Regions from separate parts of the Homo sapiens genome. Here regions 2, 3 and 4 are each linked to region 1. The links are contacts of gene promoters, found by promoter capture Hi-C in human tissues and cell types (Jung and others, 2019). All regions are on one chromosome and are shown on one strand. The core of a region is centred on a gene start or on the middle of the fragment in contact, and the rest is flanking DNA. Distances in the headings are between cores, read along the strand shown.

Region 1 (3,812 bases), core at 1,180-3,679:
ACATATGCACAGAACAGTCACCTGTGCCTTAGACTTTCTAAGAGTGTGCTACACTAAATTATGGATAAGAGACTACGTGCTGCTTCACCTTTCAAATAAAAGGCTTTTCAGTAAAAGGAAGACAATGACGCAGTGATTCTGCATTTGGATTCGGTGTGATAAACATTAACCGTATCGCATCACATGCCGACCTTCTCCAACCTTTTAAGTTCTTTCCTAACGCAGTTTAAATTATTTTTTCTACACTTTAGGGCGACACAGAACTTCAAGATTTAGCGGAAATGGAGCGCTCTATTTTTTAAGTTGGAAAAACTAAAAGGTCTAGCTTGGGTAACTTCTTCACAGCATAAGGGATAGTATTTTATACTAATAAAAATATCCTTTATGTCAATAACTATAATTTATTGAACACTTTATACGTGTGTTCTACACACTCGTTTCTCTTCACCTCAACCCTGAAGAGACAACGGAAATTATCATCACTTCAGCATGGACAGGTTCAGAAGTTAAATACTCTCTCAAGGTCAGAAGCAGCAGAGGCAGGATTCAAACCTTAGCCTTTCCCACTCCAAAGCCAAGACTCTTAATTGCCTTTGAGGGCACTAAGCTTTGCAAAAGAAATCTTTAGAATCCAAGTGGAAAAAAGATGTGTTGGTAAACGCAGTGCTGAGATATGCTATAGAGAAGTGACCAGTAGAGCAATCAAAAAGGTTAGTAATATCGAAGAAGTCCTGCCACAGAATTCCTGGGCAGCACATATGCTTGGTTCTGTAAACCTGAAAGAACTTGCAGTATAAAGTTATTAGAAGCCTTCCAAACTACATCAACAAACAAATCACTTACTTTCATAAACATGTCTGGCAGAGAGGTCACAGATAACTCCAATTATAATAGAAAAGCAAAAATAATTACATTAAGAAACATTTTTACAGAAATAGTCTTACTTTTCTTGATTTCCTAAGTTGACAGGTATAATTGATTCTATAAAGGCAAGAATGTGTGATGAAGATGATGCAGATGCGTGCAAACACACACACGACGGGAATTACATGCTGCATCTGTCACCCTAAGTTAACCAAGGTTCTGTAAAACACAACCCTCACCTTTTCTGGATGTGGTTCATAACAAGGCTGCCACTGTGGTAGCCTAGGAAAAACCTCACTACTTCCGAGAAATTATGAGAAAGCTCGTTAATTAAGGCTAACCTATGAAAAACTATTTAACACCAAATCATGAAAAACATTTCGCGGTAAGTCATCAAAATCCTTAAAGATCCCATAAATTTGAACCTATTTCAGAAGGATAAAAAAGTAGTAATCACACACATTATGTAAGAAATAGGTCACAGCGTAAGTATTCGCTTACTTGCCCCTATGTAAAATTCTTTGAGTCCAATGATTTTAATTATTAGAATCTAAATTAATCAGTTTTATTACAGTCACAGCTTATTAACCCCATAAAGAAAAATGGGCACATCCAAGATGCCAAAGATTTATTAAAAACAATTTAAAATACATGATGATTTTAAGTCTTCAACAATTTGGTTGTTTTAGGGAAATATTTAAGACCCGCAGACTGTTTGTCATGCCCTGGCCTCAAAGGAGTTTCACGACCGAGTTCTCCAGGTAAAAGTTAATGTATGCGGGTCCCTAAAGGAAGACCCCAGCCTTCCATTCCCCTGGAGCCTGCGGGCGGCGGGGAAGGAGGGTTCTGACAACAGGGTAAGGGAGAGGAGCGCAAACCGCCGGCCTCCGCCCCGCCACCCCCAGTGCGGCCACCGCTCATGCCAACACATCCCGGGAAAGCCGGGTGCACCGACTCCGCAAGGTCACCCGTGAAGAGGCGACTTTACATAATCTCCCACCGCGCCGCCAAGGCACCTGCGCGCCGCGGCAGCAGTGCAGCCGCGGTCCCCTTCCTGCAGCACGGGCGCGAGATGATGCGGGGGCGGCGAGCAGCGCTACCAGGCAGGACGCCGGGGACCCGCGGGAAGGCAGCGCGCACCAAGCCGGGGGCGGGGGACCGAGGGTGGACGCCCAGACCGGGGATGCCCCGAGCCGCCGCCTTGGCTTGCGAGGCGGGGCGCGGCCGGCGCGGGCGAGGCTCGGTGCCGAACTCCCCAAGCTGCCGCCGGACGGCCAGCGCCGAGCGCGCCCCTCGCAGCTTCGCCCCGGACTGCCCCGGGACGCACCTGCCGCGCGCCTTACCTGAGTGGCTTTATGGAACTGCTTCTTGAGGCCGGCCACCGACATGGTGCAGGAGGCCGCGCTGGCGGCTGCTGTGCGGGAGGGAGGAGGCGGAGGGGGACTGGAGGGCCGAGCGGGGCGGCGCGCTCCCCTGGCCGCCTCTGGTCGTGCCGCCGCCGGGGCTATGGGCGCGAGGGCGCGGAGCCTAGCGGGACACGGGCTCTTGCGGAGAAACACTCTGACGTCAAGGGCGGGTGATGCGGCCTCTTAAAGGGGACGCGGGAAGCCCCGCCCCAAGCGCGGGAACGCCCAGGCAGGTGCTGTGGCGCGCGGTACCTGGATGCTGGCGCCAACTGCGGGGATGTGGCTCAGCGGCACCCGCTGGCGGATCCCTAGTCAGCGGGCCGAGGACGTCCTCCTGTCCCGGGGTTGGTGTTCCTGCCCCCGGGGGCTGCGGACGGGTCGCTGCAGATTGGCAGCCCAGGCACCCGCAGGACTCAGGTGACTTGCTGGGCTTCCAGGTAGCCGCGGCGGCGCTGCCTGCAGACGGCCCTCCTGCCCTTTGAGCCTGGCGTCTCTGCGCCGCAGCCTGAAAAAGACTGGCCTTCTATCTGGGCTAATGAATAAGTCATTGCTCCTTCTATGCCTTGCCCTGACTGGTGGGTCACAGAAAACATTTCTCTGCCCTGGTTTCAATATCCCTTAAGCCCATCTTACCTTAGGGAAAGTCACACACGCGTTTTCCCCCTTGTCTGATACAATTTAATGACTTAAAAAGAAGAACAGGAACCCTTAAGCCTGGACGGATAAATAGAATTGAAGTCTTACTACAAAACTAGCGTTCAATCCTCTGGTTACAGAAATGAAAAAGCCCAAATGTGATCTTGTTGTTATGCTTGTGGATTTAGGGTTTCCGGTCCGATAAAAATCAAAATATAATGTGAAAAAGCATGATACTAAGTTATATACAGATGCTTCATATGTAACCAAGGAGGTATGGCTGGCTAAAGTGAAACTAATAGATGACTTGGGAGCAGAGCAGCACTAAATGCCTTCTGTGCTCTGGTACTTAACCAAGTCTGGTTTTTCTAGGACTGAGGAGGTGGTCAGAAAGAACTTAGACGCTGTCCCCGTATGTGGACCAAAGTGATAAGAAGGAGAAGCCAAGATGGGAGAAATTGCCAAGGATGTGTAGAGACTGCAAGGCCAAATGGGAGTCCTAGAAATACTTTTTCTGTCTCCGCAACTCCTGCAGCCTGATAGGAGCCACAGACCCATCCCCACTCTTCTAGGCACTGCGGCTTGGGCACAGGGTGAACACCTGCTACAAAAGGGTCCTCCATCCGTAGAGCTACCAGTCATGGTCCTTCTTGATAATGTGAACTGACACACACAAAGGCAGAGTCAAGCAGTGGTGGGCACTGGAGCAGTAGAGCGCATGGACTAGGGACGCAGGCTGCAAAGGGAGGCAGATGAAAGGAGCTATTCTCCAGTGTGGTAGCCCTTACCACTGTTCATATACCTTTCCCTACATGGCAGAATTGCACTTTCCAAACCTCTTGTTAAGTGGAGGCATGGTTACAAGTTTTGACTAGAGGTTTAAGAGGAAAAGTGACTGTCACTTCT
Region 2 (3,572 bases), core at 262-2,761, 95 kb before region 1:
GTTCACAGCACTACTTTATCTCAAGAAAGATGTTCAGAGCATTAGGTAAATGACTGTCTTTCACTTCCCTGTATACTTGAGTTATTTATTTAATAAGATAATTCACCCCTTAAGTCCTGAATTAAAACCCGCCAAATTTTAAAAATCTGGTATGTGCTATGAGAGATACAAATGTTTATTGCACTGTCTCCTAAGTGAAGGGGAAGATGAGCTCCCAATGTGACCTACTAAGGAAGGAAATAAGACATACGAAGTTTAAAGCATGTGAGATGACTACCACAAAGAAATACCACAACAATGTACAAAAAATGCTCAAAAAGTAGAGACGTCAATTCAGTTCTAGTAAGGTATACTGTGCTGACAGCAACAAACAATCACATTCCTCCCATCCCTGTATGCACACCCCTTGGCAATGTAACCTGGTGGCTCCTCCTATCTAGATGAAGTCTACTCCCCATCCCTTGAATCTGGGCTGGTCTGGTCACTTGCACTGGCCAAGACAATGTTAATGAACTGCCACTGTACACTTCCCGGGCCTGGGCCTCTAAAGACCTTGCAACTTTCACCCTTAGTCTCTTGCTGCTCTGAGACTGCCATGGAAAGAAACCCTGGCCAGTCCCCTTAAGGATGAGAGAGGGAGGCAGAGCTGACAGCCAGCAACAAATTGCCAGAGATGTGAGTAAGGTCATTCTAGACCTTCTACCTTCAGCTGGGCGACCAGATGAATGAGGACCCATGAGTGACCCCTAAAAAGACAAAAAGAAGAAACATCCAGCTGAGCCCAACTCAATCATGAGCCCATGATTTTCCAACAAAATCATGAACAAATAACATGTTCATTGCTTTGGGCAGGCTCACACCTGTAATCCCAGCACTTTGGGAGGCCAAGGTGGGCAGATTGTTTGAGGTCAGGAATTTGACACAGCCTGGGCGATATGGTGAAACCCTGTCCCTACTAAAAAAACAAAAATTAGCCAGGCATGGTGGGCCACACCTGTAGTCCCAGCTACTAAGGAGGTTCAGGCAAAAGAATCGCTTGAACTCGTGAGGCGGAGGTTTCAGTGAGCTGAGATCACACCACTGCACTCCAGCCTGGGCAACAGAGAGAGACTCCGTCTTAAAAAAATAAATAAATAAATAAAATCACACACATACACACAAAATGTTTATTGTTTTAAGCTGCTTAGTTTTGGGGTGATCTGGTGATCTGGTAGTCAGCAATGGATACCCAAGATAAATACAAAGAACATGTTACTAACTCTCATTTGCATTAAAAAGAAAAGGCAAAGACATTTCTTGCCACAATTATGCTGTTAATTCTGCATGCCTCCATAAGGAAGTGCTCAGATCAATTCATAATGATTTCAAGAGCCACACAAGGAAAGAGGGAAACAAAGAGAAATAAAACACAGACCCTCCATTCAAGGAGCTTAAAGATGAATTCAATAAAGTGGGCAAGGATCTATCATAGAGATAGACACAGGATGCCCTATGGAGACCTTAGGGTAGAGTCAATTGACATAATCTGGGATGGCAGCAGATGGGTGAGCAAAAGAAATCAAGGGAGGCACCCTAGAAAAGCCAGAGCAAAGTCTTGAAAGCAAAAGAATTAATAAAGACTCAAGGGTGAGTAAGAAAGAACAGCACAATCACAGGTGAGGGTGTGTGAAGCATTATGGTGGTTTCAGGGAACTAAAAGCAGTTCTGAATTGCTGTATTCTAAAGTTATGTTTGGGGAATGGCAAGACATCAAGATGGACAAGGAGATCATGGCTGGCTAGTAGGTCAAGTCAAAGAGCTCAGACTTTATCCTGCTGGTGACAAAGCATCATCCAAGTGTTTAAAGGGGAACAATGTGGTCAGAAATGTGTTTCTAAAGAAAATCATGGTTGCGTATAGAAGATGGACTTGAGCAGGCAAAGATCAGGGACAGGGAGATGAGTCAAGATCAAAGTGAAGGCCAGGCGTGGTGGCTCATGCCTATAATCCCAGCACTTTGGGAGGCAGGCAGATCGCTTGAGCCTGCATTCGGGACCAGCCTCGGCAACATGATGAAACCCCGCCTCTATAAAAAAAAAAAAAAAATTAAAAACTAGGCATGGTGGTGCGTGCCTGTAGTCCCAGCTACTTGGAAGGTTGAAGTGGGAGGATTGCTTGAGCCCAGGAGGTCAAGGCTGCAGTGAGCCATAATCGCACCACTGCATTCCAGCCTGGGTGACAAAGTGAGACTGTCTCAAAAACAAACAAACAAACAAAAAAAAAGTCAAGGTGAGAGACTCTAAGAGTAGAAGAGAGGGAAGATTTATTAGGGAGGACTATTGAAGCAGAATTGACAGACCATGGCAAACAGCCACGTGTAAGGGTAACAGGGCAAGAAATCAAAGAGCCGAGTGATACTGCCAAATACTACCCAAGACATGACAGAGCAGAGCAGGCAGTAGTCTTCTCTGGAGGAGAAGACAGCTAAGAGATTAATTCACTTTAGACATTTTGAGTTGGGCCTATGAATGTACGAAAATCTAATTCTGAAACAGAATGAGGCTGGAGGTATGCATTTGGAAGTCATTCATATAAGCACAAGAGTTAAAACCACGAACATGGATGAAATCACCCATGGAAAGCTTCTGAAGTAAAAAGAGATGTATTTATATCTGAGAGGTCTAGAAGTTAGTTATTTACACGGTCTGATGAATATACAGAGTGTGTTACTCTGTATCTTTTATAAAATCAATCACTCCTTAGGTCCTCTGTATTGGGTGAAGGGGGTGGGTGGCTCCCAGAAAGAGGGAGAGAAACCATGGCTCTGTTGCAGCTCATTTGCCTCCTGAAGGATTACAGATCAGGATCCCCACATTCACTAAACTAAAGCTTGAAAACTAAATGCCTACTTAAGTCCAGCTAATTTTCAAGATCTATGTACATGCCAGATATTATCTGGGCTCTTTTTCTAAGAAAATTCAGCCACCCTATTCTCTAACCTGAGCTTAATGAGCTCAGGTCAAGGACCTTGGAATTCAGCTGACTATAATGGTTCTTTTAGTCTCTGCTCCATCAATTATTTACATTTAGGGCATCTTAACATGAAGCAAGTGGTACACAGATATGATATTGTGTGTTTGGTTGCCTGGAAACCAAGATTTCTAAAATTTTCCTTTCCTGCTCCCAATTTTAACTATTGCCAAACCACACTACATACATATCTGTATGCACCTTTTTAATTAAATACAAAATAAGCAAATTCAACATCGACAGCTTAAGAATCTTTAAACAATTGTATTTACCTCACACTGCAGAGTAGATTTAGGTCAAAACAAAACATTGAGTTCCAGAGGTCGGTTTCCAATTTAGTTTCATGTAACACACTGGGCTCTGATATTAGTCAGTGGGTAACTGCTAGTTGATTCTACTCTGACTTAAATAGAATTAATTTACTGGTATGGTTTCATTTGTCAAGGTATGAGTACAATCTTTGTTGAGGTAACACAATTATTATGAGACAAGATTAAATACTTAAAGACATACTGATTCAACCAAAGTCCTTATCTCAAGGAAATCAAGTCCTTGGTTGTTGT
Region 3 (3,654 bases), core at 948-3,447, 120 kb before region 1:
ACCAAAGTGACAAGTGACTGCCTGCATCTGGACTTGAAGCCAGGACTGCAAAGTCTTCCTATCCAGGACTCCTTCTACTACCATATGTAATATTCCCTTTCACTTCTTCTAAAATCAGCAGGATCACCTCAGGAAGTACCCAGGCAATTATATGTAAGGTTGACACCAAAATCCTAAAAGACTAGCTACAGGAAAAAATTAGGAATGAATAAGAACAAGCACACAGACAAACGGAACGCAGAAAGTGAATATGCCATCTAAATCTTAGCCCATTTTCTAGCTCCCAGAGATTCAATGCCAGTCTGATTTACTAATTCCCTTCAACCAATATCATGACAATAGAGCAAAGGAGAAGACAAGAAGAATTTAGTAGGCGCAACACAGGCCAAGTCATCAGGGAGAACTGATCATCAGGGTTACAATCCTAGCATTTTCTGCTTCTGCAAAACTATGAGACAGTTTAAATATTCCTTGGTGCATTCCAAGGTTAGGAGTCTAGAAGGCTATTCGGGGGGCAATGATATGGTTTCAGTGACAAAGTTATGTACTAGTGGATGTCTAATGAAGTTGCTAATAGAGGAATTATTAAGACAAAAGACTAAACATGTTGCTTTGCATTCCTCAGGTTATATTTTGAACACATGAGTGGGACTGGCCACTACTCTGACTGGACCTGTATAGAAATGCATTTGAGGCCAGGCACGGTGGCTCACACCTGTAATACCAGCACTTTGGGAGGCCAAGGTGGGCGGATCACGAGGTCAGGAGTTGGAGATCAGCCTGACCAGCATGGTGAAACCCTGTCTCTACTAAAAATACAAAAATTAGCCAGGCATGGTGGCGTGCACCTGTAATCCCAACTACTCAGGTGGCTGAGGCAGAAGAATCCCTTGAACCCGGGAGGCGGAGTTTGCAGTGAGCCGAGATCATGTCACTGCACTCCAGCCTGGGTGAAAAAGTGAGACTCCGCCTTAAAAAAAAAAAAAAGAAATGCATTTGAGCTCATGCTCAAGTTGAAGGTGCAAAGCCAGCTACTAATTCTGAAGAAAGCAGACTATATGTTTGTTAGCAATCAATCTATCCAGCCCTGAGTGCCCGGTTTTCACAGCCCATGTGGCCTCTCTAATACCCTGTGGTGTGAGGGAGCTGATTCTTAAAGAGGAAATGTCAGCCCAGGACAGTATCAAGGTTCCAACACTGGACTTAGTACATCCTCCCAGAAGGGCATCCTTTATTTCTAAGAGGCAATGAGGCTTCTGCATGTTCAGTCTTTAAAAGTCACTCTAAAATAAGAACAAGTCCCAGAAAGTGATGGAAGGTAAGAGGGTTATGGATATGCTATGCATGTGGAGAGCAATTTTGGTTTTAGCATCCACAAAAAATGGGCTATGAAAAATCGAAAAAAGGAAGGGATAATCCAAAGCTATGTGATATGGTTTGGCTGTGTCCCCACCCAAATCTCATCTTCAATTGTAGTTCCCATAATCCCCATGTGTCACGGGAGGGACCCAGTAGGAGGTAATGGAATCATGTGGGCAGTTCCCCCATGCTGTTTTCATTATAGTGAGTGAGTTTTCATGAGATCTGATGGTTTTTTAAGGGGCTTTTCCCCCTTTGCTCGGCACTTCTCCTTCCTACCGCCCTGTGAAGAAGGTGCCTTTCTTCCCCTTCACCTTTTGCCAGGCCTGTAAGTTTCCTGAGACCTCCCCAGCCATGTGGAACTGTGAGTCAATTAAACCTCTTCTGTTCATAAATTACTCCATCTCAGGTATTTCTTCATAGCAGTGTGAGAATGGACTAATATACCATAGTAGTAAAGTGATTATTTGTCTGCTGTAATACATCCAGGAATACTTTCTCTTTGGCTTTGTTTATAAAACCGTTTTCTTCACAGTCAATTAGCTTCAAGGCACAAACATAAATCTGAAATATTCATTACAAAATACAAATGTAATAGTTATCTGTATTTAAAATATCCTTGAGTTATAAAGCTAGATTTTAAAAATGTTCTCTTTAAAAAAGGAAAAAAAAAGTCCTCTTTAGTGTGGACCTCCCTGAGTCCTCCAGCTGCCCCCACTTTGAACAGACTTCAGAACTGGAAAGGACTTGGGTATTACAGAGGGCCTTCACTGAAGGGATGAGAAAAGAGAGGCTCGGGGAAGTTGTGATTTGTATCAGCTTGCAGGACAACTCAGACAACAACACAGCCTGAACTAGAACTATCAGGTCTGCCTTCTTTTGGTCTGCTGTTTTTCTCCCATCATGTCAAGATGCCTTTTAAAAATGCAACATCAGTATAAAAAGGCCTCTATGACTTACTAAGGTCAGAGCTAAGAAATGACCCCAACATTCCCTACCCATGTTCCTCAGATAAAATACCATCCTCCAATTTCAGAGACATCAAGATTTTTTTCACAATGTTTCCATTTTTAAAAAAATCTGGATAGATTTTTCTGTGCTTATTCCTGCCAAGAAGTAATCCACTCCTAGCTCTCTGCATAATAGCTACCCTGACTGAAAAAAAGAGGTTGTGATTATGTAATGGCCATCCAACCCACTACCACCCGGGAGCATCAATACAGAAAGGGCTTTTTACAGAGAAAGTCAGAAGGCCCCAGGCGAGCACAGAGGGAGTGCAGATACCTCCTGGTTACCTCCTCAAAGTTGCCATCTGAGGAGTATATTGAGATCTAAGCAATTGCATTTGTTCCCCTGAGATTATGTGACACCGAAAACCTTACTGACTCAGGGAAAATAATCCACTTACTCCTTATGTGTGCAGAGCAGAGAAGCTACGTGAAGTTTCTAACCCCCTGGAAATAAAAATCTTCAATATTTGCTGACAACCTCAGGCATCTACTCCACTGTGTATGAAGCAGAGGCTAGCTCGTGGGATCCCAAGTTCCTCTCTGATGCTTCCACATGTACCTGTCATCCTAAGAAGTTAAAGGGATCGCATTTCACTTTGAGAAAATGAAAATATCTTGATAAGATATTTCATCTTATGCTACAAGACACCAATAAACACTCCAGAATTTTCACCCACTGAACAAAGCCACAAAAAGCAGCCAGGGGACAGAATGGGATGACATTTCTTACTGACTGTTTTCTAATTATTTTCTTCTCTTGTATTCCCTCCAGTAACTTTTGCAGTGCCTCTTTCCCCTCTAGTGATCTCTGGCTATTTTTATATTCTTTCATAATGATTTATTCATGTCTAGTGAAAATTTTATAATTTTCACTAGATTTCTTCAAATTTCAACATTGTGACTGCTGTGCAAGGTATCACCTAAGTGTGCCACTGCCTCCCCTACTCCATTCCCTACAGAAAAAATAAAAATAAAAATAAAACTCTAGTCTGTAAGCCCCCACTTGTGAAGGTTTTAGTAGGCTCTCTAAATGTGAAGTTTGACATTTAACTCAATTATTTAAATTCTCCAGAGCAATACCTTAAGGAAATCACCATTCCCATTTTACTGGCACATGGAAAATTTAGAAAGAATAGCGGTTTCTCTCACTTTATTTAGAGGTGAATATGTTCATTTCCAACATTCATACCCTCAACTTATACCATTCACACTCTCAAATATTTGCTTGCTTTTCCCTGTCTGTCTTCAGCTCTAGTATTGCAGTGGAAGGGGAAAAATAATGACA
Region 4 (3,859 bases), core at 41-2,540, 71 kb before region 1:
TGAGATGAGTCAACATTTTAAAGATGTCAAATCCCTGTAAAATTAATTTATAGTCTCAGAGGATTTCCTATTACATCCCATCAGGAATTTGAGGAAGCTTAACAAAGTAAATCTAAAAATATACATGGAGAAAAAAATGGCTTAGACATTTTTTTCAAGAAAATAAAGCAAAAGCTGAAAGTTTACCCTGCCAGATATTAAAATTCATTATGTCTTAGGAATTAAGAACAGTAAAAACTAATGAAAAAACAATAAAAAGCAAAGCCAAGAAACAAAATAGGTGTTCTATGTCTCTCTCACACACACACACCACACATACATGTGTGCACACGTGCAAACACACACACACAAGGAAAAGGGGAGAAACAGAGAAAAGGTCTAGTATGAAATGGTGCCAGAATTCAGCCCTGGGAAAATTCCTATTGTTCTAGCATTAAGGACATAAGATGACCAGTGATGGGCAGAAAACATGTATTTCATAAAACAATAAACTCTCCTAATGCAGCAGAAGGCAGTCTCAAGATGCCCTAAAAAGAATTATCATGAGCAATCTCACAAGTTAATTAATATGTTCACAATAGGAAAGACTGTATAATGTATTCAGGTCGGCTTTAGCCATCATATCACCAATAACATGATTTACAAAAATATGCTTCAGCCATAAAAACCTCAAGACAAGGCCGAGCGTGGTGACTCACGCCTGTAATCCCAGCACTTTGGGAGGCTGAAGCGGGCGGATCAGGAGGTCAGCAGTGGCCAACATGGTGAAACCCTGTCTCTACTAAAAATACAAAAATTAGCCAGGCGTGGTGGCACACGCCTGTAATCCCAGCTACTCAAGAGGCTGAGGCAGGAGAATCGCTTGAACCCGGAAGGCAGAGGTCTCCATGAGCCAAGATTGCGCCACTGCACTCCAGCCTGGGTGACAGAGCGAGACTCCGTCTTAAAAAAAACAAACAAACAAAAAAACTTCAAGTGGATATCACCTCAAATAATCTTCAACCAATCCATACCATGATTATTAAGGCTTGAGAAAGAGGATATATCACGTTCTTTTGTGTACTTCAAACTGTTACAAGGATATCATTTATTTCTAGTTTAAGTAAAATCCTGACAATACTCACATTTCACTTACTTTTTATCAAACACAGCATGTGCAATATTTTATTCCATAACTAAGTTGAGAATCTGAATGTAGATAACATCATCTCAACTGCTGTTCTTAAGTGAAAATTCTAATCAGAGTTGGTATGATCTCAACTCTACTCTCTCCAGGGAAGATATCCTTGTTGGAATATTAGAAATATGTGGAACACTAAATAAAAGCTGGTGGTTATGAAGGCTTTTCTTTTTAGATTAATCAATTTAAAGTTGAGCCATTCTATACTTTTTTTCTAGATAGAACACCTAGATATACTAAACACCATTTCAGTACAAACCTGTCAAATCTCTGAACTGTGATTTTTCTTTGTCACTTCTGTTACAACAGGTGTATAACAAATTGGTTTGACACGTTTATCTGCCAAAATTCAGGCATAGCAAGAAAAACTACTTAGGCTTCTCAGAAAAAGAATATTACATATTTGTATTCAAAATAACTAAAAATATTCACTATTTTCCTCAAACCTGAAATGAGACCTAATACGTGTATTTGCCAAAAGAAAAATTTTGTTGCCTCATTTGCAGTTACTCTAATAAAGCAAACTCCCTTGTGTAAGTTAAATAGGCACATAGTAAACTATTTTTTCCATTTAAAACAGAAAATACGTTTTGTGGTATTTACCAATGCCCTTTTAAATATACTTTGGTAACATCGATTTATCTTTATCATACAATTATGATTTTTTTCACTTAAATTATACTGAAAACAGAGATCCAACCAAATCAGAATGTAGTATTTGTAAGCTAATGTGAGTGGTTTAATTCAGAACACTGGTTTCAATTGTGCCTTTAAAAATGTACGCGATAGGGCAGGTATGGTGGCTCACGCCTGTAATCCCAGCACTTTGGGAGGCCAAGGCAGGTGGTTCGCTTAAGGTCACAAGTTCGAGACCAGCCTAGCCAACACGGCAAAACCCTGCCTCTACTAAAAATACAAAAAATTAGCTGGGTGTTGTGGCACATGCCTGTAATTCCAGCTACTCAGGAGGCGCAGGTTGCAGTGAGCTGAGATCATGTCACTGTCCACTGTGGGTGACAGGGTAAGACTCTTTCTCAAAACAATAATGAAAAATGTACACTAGAGAACCTTACGATTAATCCTTGAGTTAAGAGAAAAAGGAAAAAAAGCCCACATTGACAGACTTATTTTTATACACATGCACTCACACACAACATCATACAGGAAACACAGTTCTATTCAGAGATAGATAAGATCCCTGATGGAACAGTGCTCTTTGTATCTAGGTTTCACCATAATAATTTGGGAAAAAATGATTGATATGATGAGTAGTCTACAGAACTTTGTTTCTAGGTTGCCAGATGTAACTTACACTGTCATCTCTTTCTAGAAGTTGTTTTCATCATTTTCAACCTGAATGAACCAAACATTATCATAGGAAACTCTTTTGAACATTTCACACAGACTTAAGAAAATTATGTGAGATCTGCCAACACAAACATTTAGAATCCTAAGCAGCTATTAGAAAGAAGCCAATGACTCATTTTCTGAGATGCTTTGATTCTGTCAAGTCACTACCTCAGTACATTTTAGAAAATAAATTTATTATAATAATAATGACAACAAGAAAATATTCAAAGGCAACCCTCCTTTTTCAGTGTCTAAAGAATTCATTTACCAATGCTAAGAAATAAACCCTGGATGTTTTTGAGTGAGTTAACTCAGAACAATGGCTTTCCAAAAGATAGACAAAGCCAAACTTCTTTGCCAGGCCTTGAAGATCTGTAAGATTTGGCCCCAAATTCCTTTCCAACCCAACATTTTACTCTTCCTATGTACCTTTGTGTAGATATAAACTGGCTACCTAACAGCGTTAATCTCATCTTTGTACAGCACCTTTGTACATGCATTCCCCTAATCTTGATCATGTTCTTTTCCCTCAAGCACAGATCTCTCTATATACAAGTGGAATCCTTGAACAACATGGAGATTAGGGACATCAATCCCCTTGTGTAGTTGAAAATCCACACATAACTTTTGACCTCTCCAAAGCTTAACTACTAATAGCCTACTGTTAACTGGAAGACTTGCCAATAACACAAACAGTTATGAACACATTTTGTATGTTATATGTATTATATACTGTATTTTTACAATAAAGTAAGCTACAGAAAGAAAATATTAATAAATCACAAGGAAGAGAATATATATTTACTGTCCATTAAATAGAAGTGCATCATCACAAAGGTCTTCATCTTCATCTTCATGTTGAGTAGGCTGAGGTGGAAGAGGAAGGTGGGGGGACTGGCCTCACTGTCTCAAGGGTGGCAGAGGTGGAAGAAAATCTGCATATAAGTGGACCCACACAGTTCAAACGTGTGTTGTTCAAAGTTCAACTGTAAAAATGCTGTCAACTTTCACAGTCCAATTTAAAGGATGCCTCTTTGAGTTGGTGAGTGCTTACATGCCATGCTCCATGCTAAATCCTTTATGTGTATCATTTATTTTAATCTTTATAATCCCTCCTCTACGGTGGCCATAATAATTACTACCATTAAGAAGTAATAGTAGTATTCTGTGGTACCAAGTGTTTTACAGTATTACTTTATTTAACCTTTGCAACAAGCTAGCTTGTTATCCTCACTTTCAGATGAGAAAGGTGAGGCTTTGTATGTTACAGACTTAAGAACAACAGCTTTGTGGTCTCAATTTGAATCCCAGTTCCACCATTTGTATCTT

The links. Contacts are between HindIII fragments. The study calls those that stand out against the background at their distance.
Region 2: a contact is called between a fragment that was not itself captured here and the fragment with the promoter of SH3GL2 in region 1, in 2 of the 25 tissues and cell types used here (H1 embryonic stem cells and dorsolateral prefrontal cortex).
Region 3: a contact is called between a fragment that was not itself captured here and the fragment with the promoter of SH3GL2 in region 1, in 2 of the 25 tissues and cell types used here (IMR-90 fibroblasts and dorsolateral prefrontal cortex).
Region 4: a contact is called between a fragment that was not itself captured here and the fragment with the promoter of SH3GL2 in region 1, in 2 of the 25 tissues and cell types used here (dorsolateral prefrontal cortex and mesenchymal stem cells).

The regions. Positions count from the first base shown.
Region 1 is chr9:17,577,683-17,581,494 of GRCh38, reverse strand. SH3GL2 (SH3 domain containing GRB2 like 2, endophilin A1) reads right to left here and starts at 2,429. Exons shown (of 9, transcript NM_003026.5): 1 at 2,208-2,429. The coding sequence starts at 2,252. RefSeq lists a silencer at 3,419-3,617. The HindIII fragment of the contact is 4,711 bases long and covers 239-3,812 here.
Region 2 is chr9:17,671,832-17,675,403 of GRCh38, reverse strand. The region is part of intron 1 of SH3GL2 (SH3 domain containing GRB2 like 2, endophilin A1); the gene reads right to left. Among named protein-coding and RNA genes, the nearest start is that of SH3GL2, 95 kb to the right of the region's middle. The HindIII fragment of the contact is 4,998 bases long and covers 1-3,572 here.
Region 3 is chr9:17,694,561-17,698,214 of GRCh38, reverse strand. All of the region lies in intron 1 of SH3GL2 (SH3 domain containing GRB2 like 2, endophilin A1), which reads right to left. Among named protein-coding and RNA genes, the nearest start is that of SH3GL2, 120 kb to the right of the region's middle. The HindIII fragment of the contact is 4,547 bases long and covers 1-3,654 here.
Region 4 is chr9:17,647,476-17,651,334 of GRCh38, reverse strand. The region is part of intron 1 of SH3GL2 (SH3 domain containing GRB2 like 2, endophilin A1); the gene reads right to left. Among named protein-coding and RNA genes, the nearest start is that of SH3GL2, 70 kb to the right of the region's middle. The HindIII fragment of the contact is 5,181 bases long and covers 1-3,859 here.